Linked DNA regions of Homo sapiens: region 2 is linked to region 1. The links are contacts of gene promoters, found by promoter capture Hi-C in blood cells and fetal thymus (Javierre and others, 2016). All regions are on one chromosome and are shown on one strand. The core of a region is centred on a gene start or on the middle of the fragment in contact, and the rest is flanking DNA. Distances in the headings are between cores, read along the strand shown.

Evidence for each region. The method cuts DNA at HindIII sites, captures the fragments that hold promoters and counts their contacts. A CHiCAGO score of 5 or more calls a contact.
Region 2: a fragment that was not itself captured here is called in contact with the fragment with the promoter of LONRF3 in region 1 in 5 of 17 cell types (total B cells, monocytes, M0 macrophages and 2 more); the score reaches 9.2 in total B cells.

Annotation. Positions count from the first base shown.
Region 1 is chrX:118,973,169-118,976,099 of GRCh38, forward strand. LONRF3 (LON peptidase N-terminal domain and ring finger 3) reads left to right here and starts at 1,450. Exons shown (of 11, transcript NM_001031855.3): 1 at 1,450-2,429. The coding sequence starts at 1,613. The HindIII fragment of the contact is 6,269 bases long and covers 1-2,931 here.
Region 2 is chrX:119,091,047-119,093,977 of GRCh38, forward strand. It overlaps KIAA1210, which reads right to left. Exons shown (of 12, transcript NM_001394962.1): 8 at 2,621-2,729. Among named protein-coding and RNA genes, the nearest start is that of CT47C1, 20 kb to the left of the region's middle. The HindIII fragment of the contact is 6,964 bases long and covers 1-2,931 here.

The DNA of each region.
Region 1 (2,931 bases), core at 200-2,699:
ACTCTGAAACATGACTTAATCCCAAGTAAGATCAGCTCTAACATTTGTTCAGAAGCAAAAATGATGGATTCTAAAGTTTGACTTCCCCAAGGTCATCTGGCTAAGAGGTGGCTGCAGCAGGGGGCAACAATAGGTCTTCAGGCCCCTGGGGCGGCAACCTGGCACTGCCCAAGAGCCCGCAGGCTCTGAAGGCCAACTGAGCCAGCGGCAAGCCTAGTCCCTGCCTCCCTGCTTGGAGCAGTGCGACTATACCGTTTTCTGTCTGCTCATTTGTGAGCTTGGTTCCCGTCCTAAATGTGGGGGTTCAAGGCAGACAAAGAGTGTGCAGTTGGCCACCCCGCTCGCCTTCAGGAAGTGTGTAGGACACCGTCGAGGCCCCCTAGCCATTGTAAACCAGGCGCTGAGGCTCGTGCCCAGTTGTACCCTTCCCGCGCAGCGCTCAGGAGCGACAAACCTGGAGGCTATTCGGTCTGCCACTGGGCTGTGCCGGGATTCGCGGACTTTCTCCTGAATAGCGCTCTCAGCTCGCGTCTTCCCCCTGCCACTCTCCCACGCCCCCAGAGTACCCACCGACCCCAGCAGGCCGGGTACATCCCTGCCGCGCCCATCCGGCCAGTGGCTCCAGGGGCCGGCCTGGTGTGTCTCCAGCTGGGCGCCTACCGCCTGCCCCAGCGCTAGTTCTGGCGTTGGGGGTAGAGAGGTAAAGAGGGGAGTTAGCGGGGCATCTCCCTCCCAGGGCTGAGCCGGCAAGCGCATCTTCTCCGCGAGTTCCTCACTGTCCAGCGAGCGCTGCCCAACTTCTGCGCCGGTGGGACCCGCTGCTCTGAGTCACTCTTGGCACAGAACACCAAGCACCCTCAGAAACCGAATTCACCACCTTTGGGAGGCTCCTGGGAGAAGGCAAGGAACCCAGGCGGGGCTCCCAGGGCTCTCGGGCTGGGACTGGGTTGTGTGTGTGTGGGGGGGCTTCACGGATACCCCTCCCAACCTGCTTCCTTTCCCTGACAGCAGCCATCTCCCCCAAGAGGGAGAGTCTTAGGCGTCCCGGAAGACCCTGCGGACTGTGCACCTCGAGGTACCAGCCTCTCCTGGGAGGAGTGGGGGGCCGCTGGTCAGCGGCTGGCAGAGGGGACCTGTTTGCTGGCCCGTTTGGAGGTGGGATGGAGTGGGGTTTGGAGACTGAGAAGCCCAAGAGAAGACACTGAGTTTCTCCCCACCCCACAACCCCACTTCCGAAAAAGAACCAGGTGGTGAGGAGGAATAAGGCGAAGTGTAAACACAAACAACCTCAAAAAGAAGCCAAGAAAAGCGAAGCCCAAAGAAGCAAGAGCAACACTGTTACAAAACTGTCTGGTTTTGTAACAATTTCCCCGCCGCCGGCCAATGAACAGCGTGGCGGCACGTCACGTGGTACCGTTTTATATAACACTTTGCTGAGACAAGACAGTTATTAGGCGGCGCGGGGCGGCCGGCATGGAGCTCCCGGAGGCGCGGCAGGGTCAGGAGCTCGGTGGCATGGCGGCGGTGGCTGCCCCGATTTCCTCCAGCTGCCACTCCTTGCTTCGTGTCCCCGGTCCCTAGACGCCTCGTCTCCTCCCGTGTCCCTCTTCCCATGGAGTCAGTACGGATCGAACAGATGCTGAGCTTGCCCGCTGAGGTCAGCAGCGACAACTTGGAGTCGGCGGAGCGAGGGGCATCAGCGGCCCAAGTAGACATGGGCCCCCACCCAAAGGTGGCTGCAGAGGGCCCCGCACCTCTACCGACGCGGGAGCCAGAGCAAGAGCAGTCTCCGGGGACCTCAACGCCGGAGAGCAAAGTCCTGCTCACGCAGGCAGACGCCTTGGCGTCCCGGGGGCGAATCCGTGAAGCCCTCGAGGTGTATAGACAGCTCTCCGAGCGGCAGCAGCTGGTGGCTGAGCAGCTGGAGCAGCTGGTGCGCTGCCTGGCGGAGAAAGTCCCGCAAGGCGAGGCGCTGGCGCCGGCGCCCCCGGACGAGGGTAGCACTGCAAGCGGCACCGTGGCGGCGGAAGAGACGGGGGCCGCCGCGGCTGCGGCGGCCACCGAGGTGTGGGACGGCTTTAAGTGCCGGAAATGTCATGGGTTTCTATCAGACCCCGTGTCCTTGTCGTGTGGCCACACCTTTTGTAAACTGTGCCTGGAACGTGGGCGGGCCGCCGACCGGCGCTGTGCGCTGTGCGGGGTCAAGCTCTCCGCCTTGATGGTGGCCACTGGGCGGGCGCGTGGAGCCCGGCGGGCTGGGCAGCAGCCGCCGCCGCCGCTGCGAGTCAACGTGGTGCTCAGCGGCCTCCTCGGCAAGTTGTTTCCAGGCCCAGCGCGAGCGTCGCAACTCCGGCACGAGGGCAACCGACTGTACCGCGAGCGCCAGGTGGAGGCGGCACTGCTCAAGTACAACGAGGCAGTTAAGTTGGGTGAGTCCAACGCGCTGCCGGGCCGGGGCTGGGGCTCGGTGGCTACATGAGGGAGCGGGAGAACAAACCCCGCAGCGAGAAGGGATTTGGACCAGGGCAGAAGAGGGGGCGGGGGACCCATGGACTGTGGCGGGGTGGGGGAGGGGTGATTCTGGGGCTGGGTCTCTGAGTTTGTTCTGTTTTCACTGCTTATCTGTGTTTCACTGTGTTTGTGTTGATCTCGGTTGCTTTTTGTCTTTTCCTGCTACTTCTGTTAGCTTTTGTGTTCCTGTCTCTCAGTCCCCGTTCCTGTCTGTGTCTCCTTGCTTCTGGTTCTTTTTCTCCGTCTCTTCGTATCTTTGTCACTGTTTCTTTCTTTTTCGGTGTCACTGTCTCTGTTCCTCTGACTCTCCTTCTCCCGCTGCACTCCTGGTCTCCTCTTACACCTGCTCGCACCTTCCCAGCGAGGAGAGGAACTTCGCGCGCTCCTCGCACTTGCGCCCGGTCCTCTGGGCTGTAGCCA
Region 2 (2,931 bases), core at 295-2,794, 120 kb after region 1:
TCCATTAAAAAGTGGGCAAAGGATATGAATAAACAATTCTCAAAAGAAGATATACAAATGGACAACAAACATATGAAAAATGCTCAATGTCACTAATCACGAGGGAAATGCAAATTGAAACACAACGCGATATCATCTTACCTCAGCCAGAATGGCCATTATTACAAAGTCAAAAAACAATAGATGTTGGGATGAATGTGATAAAAAGAGCATACTTATACACCGCTGCTGGGAATGTAAATTAGTGCAACCTCTGTGGAAAACAGTATGGAAATTTCCCAAAGAACTAAAAATAGATCTATGATTCAATCCAGCAATCCCACTACTGAGTATCTACCCAAAGGAAAAGAAGTCATTATATCAAAAAGACACCTGCACACATATGTTTATTGAAGCACAATTCACAATTGCAAGGATATGGAATCAACCTAAGTGCCCATCAACCTATGAGTAGATAAAGAAAATGTCAAGCACATGCTAGTAGTTGTACAGATTACTCCTCTCCTTTCTTCTAGTACTTTTCTAAGGAACTCACTTTGATCCCCAGATGGAAGGGTCCCTCGCTGCCTTTCTTCCCTCACTATCTGCTGCATCCCTAGCTCCATCTAGGGGTTTCATACCCAGCATACGGCGCTGAGAATAGCTGACTGTGCTCCAAACCACTTTCATGATATGGAAAATCAACTAAAGAAAATGTGATACTACTCAGGCATAACAAAGAATGAAATAATGTCTTTTGTAGCAACCTGGATGAAACTGGAGGCCAATATTCTAAGTGAAGTAACCCAGGAATCGAAAACCAAATACCACATGTTCTCCCTTATAAATGGGAGCTAAGCTATGGGTATGCAAAGGCATACAGAGTGGTATATTAGACACTGAAGACTCAGAAAGTGGGAAGGGTAGGAGGGGGTGAGGAATGAAAAACTACATAATGGGTACAATGTACATTACTCTAATGACAGGTGCACTAAAATCCTAGACTTCACCACTATACAATCCATCTGTGTAACCAAAAACCACTTGTACCCCTAAAGCTATTGAAATAAAAACATTTTTTTAAACCGATCATATGTAATACACATGCAAAGAAATTCTTGGAATGCCTTAAGAATTGCATTGGTCCACAGGCTTCAGGTCAAGCACAAGGTAGTAGTTGTACAGATTACTCCTCTCCTTTCTTCTAGTTCTAAGGAACTCACTTTGATCCCCAGATGGAAGGGCCCCTTGTGCCTTTCTTCCCTCACTATCTGCTGCATCCTTAGCTCCATCCAGTAGTTTCATATCCAGCATACAGCGCTGATAATAGCTGACTATGCTCCAAACCACTTCCATGATATGGAAAATCAACTAAAGTATCTGCCACCATGGATACTGACTCAGTTCTATCCTCTGTGTGTAAAAGAGACAACTATTAAAAAATAAAGCTCAAAGGCTGGGTGCAGTGGCTCACGCCTGCAATCCCAGCACTTTGGGAGGCCAAGGTGGGCAGATCACAAGGTCAGGAGATTGAGATCATCCTGGCTAACACGGTGAAACTCCCTCTCTACTAAAAATACAAAAAATTAGCCAAGCGTGGCGGCGGGCGCCTGTAGTCCCAGCTACTAGGGAGGCTGAGGCAGGAGAATTGCTTGAACTAGGGAGGTGGAGGTTGCAGTGAGCCGAGATCATGCCACTGCACTCCAGCCTGGGTGACAGAGTGAGACTCCGTCTTAAATAAATAAATAAATAAATAAATAAATAAATAAATAAATAAAAATAAAGCTCAAAAAGACAAAAGAGTACTCATTTAATCTTCCTTTTTCTTTTTTTTTCTGGAGGGTTTTGTGGTTTTCTTAGTATTCATGGGAAAACGTGTTTAGGAATGTCCTGTCTTTGGACCCACATGTGAAATCCTTTGTGGCAAAAACGTAACATAACTATTCAACTTAATTTGAGGAACTGGAATTTTTTTATCAAATACTGCTAGAAATCAGCTTGCCATCAACTGGAGCCAACATCCACATATGCACCCACATAAACACACAGAGAGATTTTCACTCTGGTGATATTTGTTGTTTGGGGATTTGATAGGTGTTGGCTGCCAAGGACATCTGTCTGCAGCTGCATAAACCCTCTTTGTCCAAGGATGTGGGCAATAGTATCATTATTAACACAGACATTTTCTCTCTACAGGAAGAGAAAGGCAACTTTAAAAAAATGATTTTTTGGCCAATTCTATTATTCCTTTCTGGTTCTGCTGCTGAGGAAGAATGCTGAAGGGGAAATCAGTGGTTGTCCTCTCATATCTGGGCTCACTGAGGAACTCAGCATGTACGTTAGCCTCGGAGAGGATGAAACAAATTCACAAACAAAACACCTCTCTTGTTGGAAATTCATTTACATAAAATAAGAATCCAGGTATGATCCTTTACCTGAACCCCACACAAGTGGCAATTGTATTACTTTGGCAGTTTAGATGGAGAAGCCTGGACAACATTTTCTGCATATAAAATTGAAAGCTCTCTGAAGACCAAGGGCAGCAGTCTTGGGTAGTTCTTGGGTATAGCTCCTATCAACATAGCACTGTGCAATGAAGTCTGTCATACATGTTTCTGGGTGAGGGTGAAGATATGCTAACCTGCACTGTCCATTCCCAGCTTCTTTTCGTTGATTTCTTTTGGTTTGGTTATGCTCTTTTCTTCTTCAGAAACCAATGGAAGGTTTGGCTCCTCCTCCTTTGGTTCCACCTGAAACAGGAAAAGAAAGAGCTTGAATCCTACTGAAGTGCTTTCCAACCACGCCTGCATGGTTGCCAAAGAAAAAGCATCAGGAAAAAAGTTCTTGATGCTGGGCACGTAACAGTACCTTTAAAGATGGACGTTATTTCAATGGAGATATTTCCAGGGATTTCTTAATGGAATTGTTTCCACCAAGAGATCCTTGGGGATC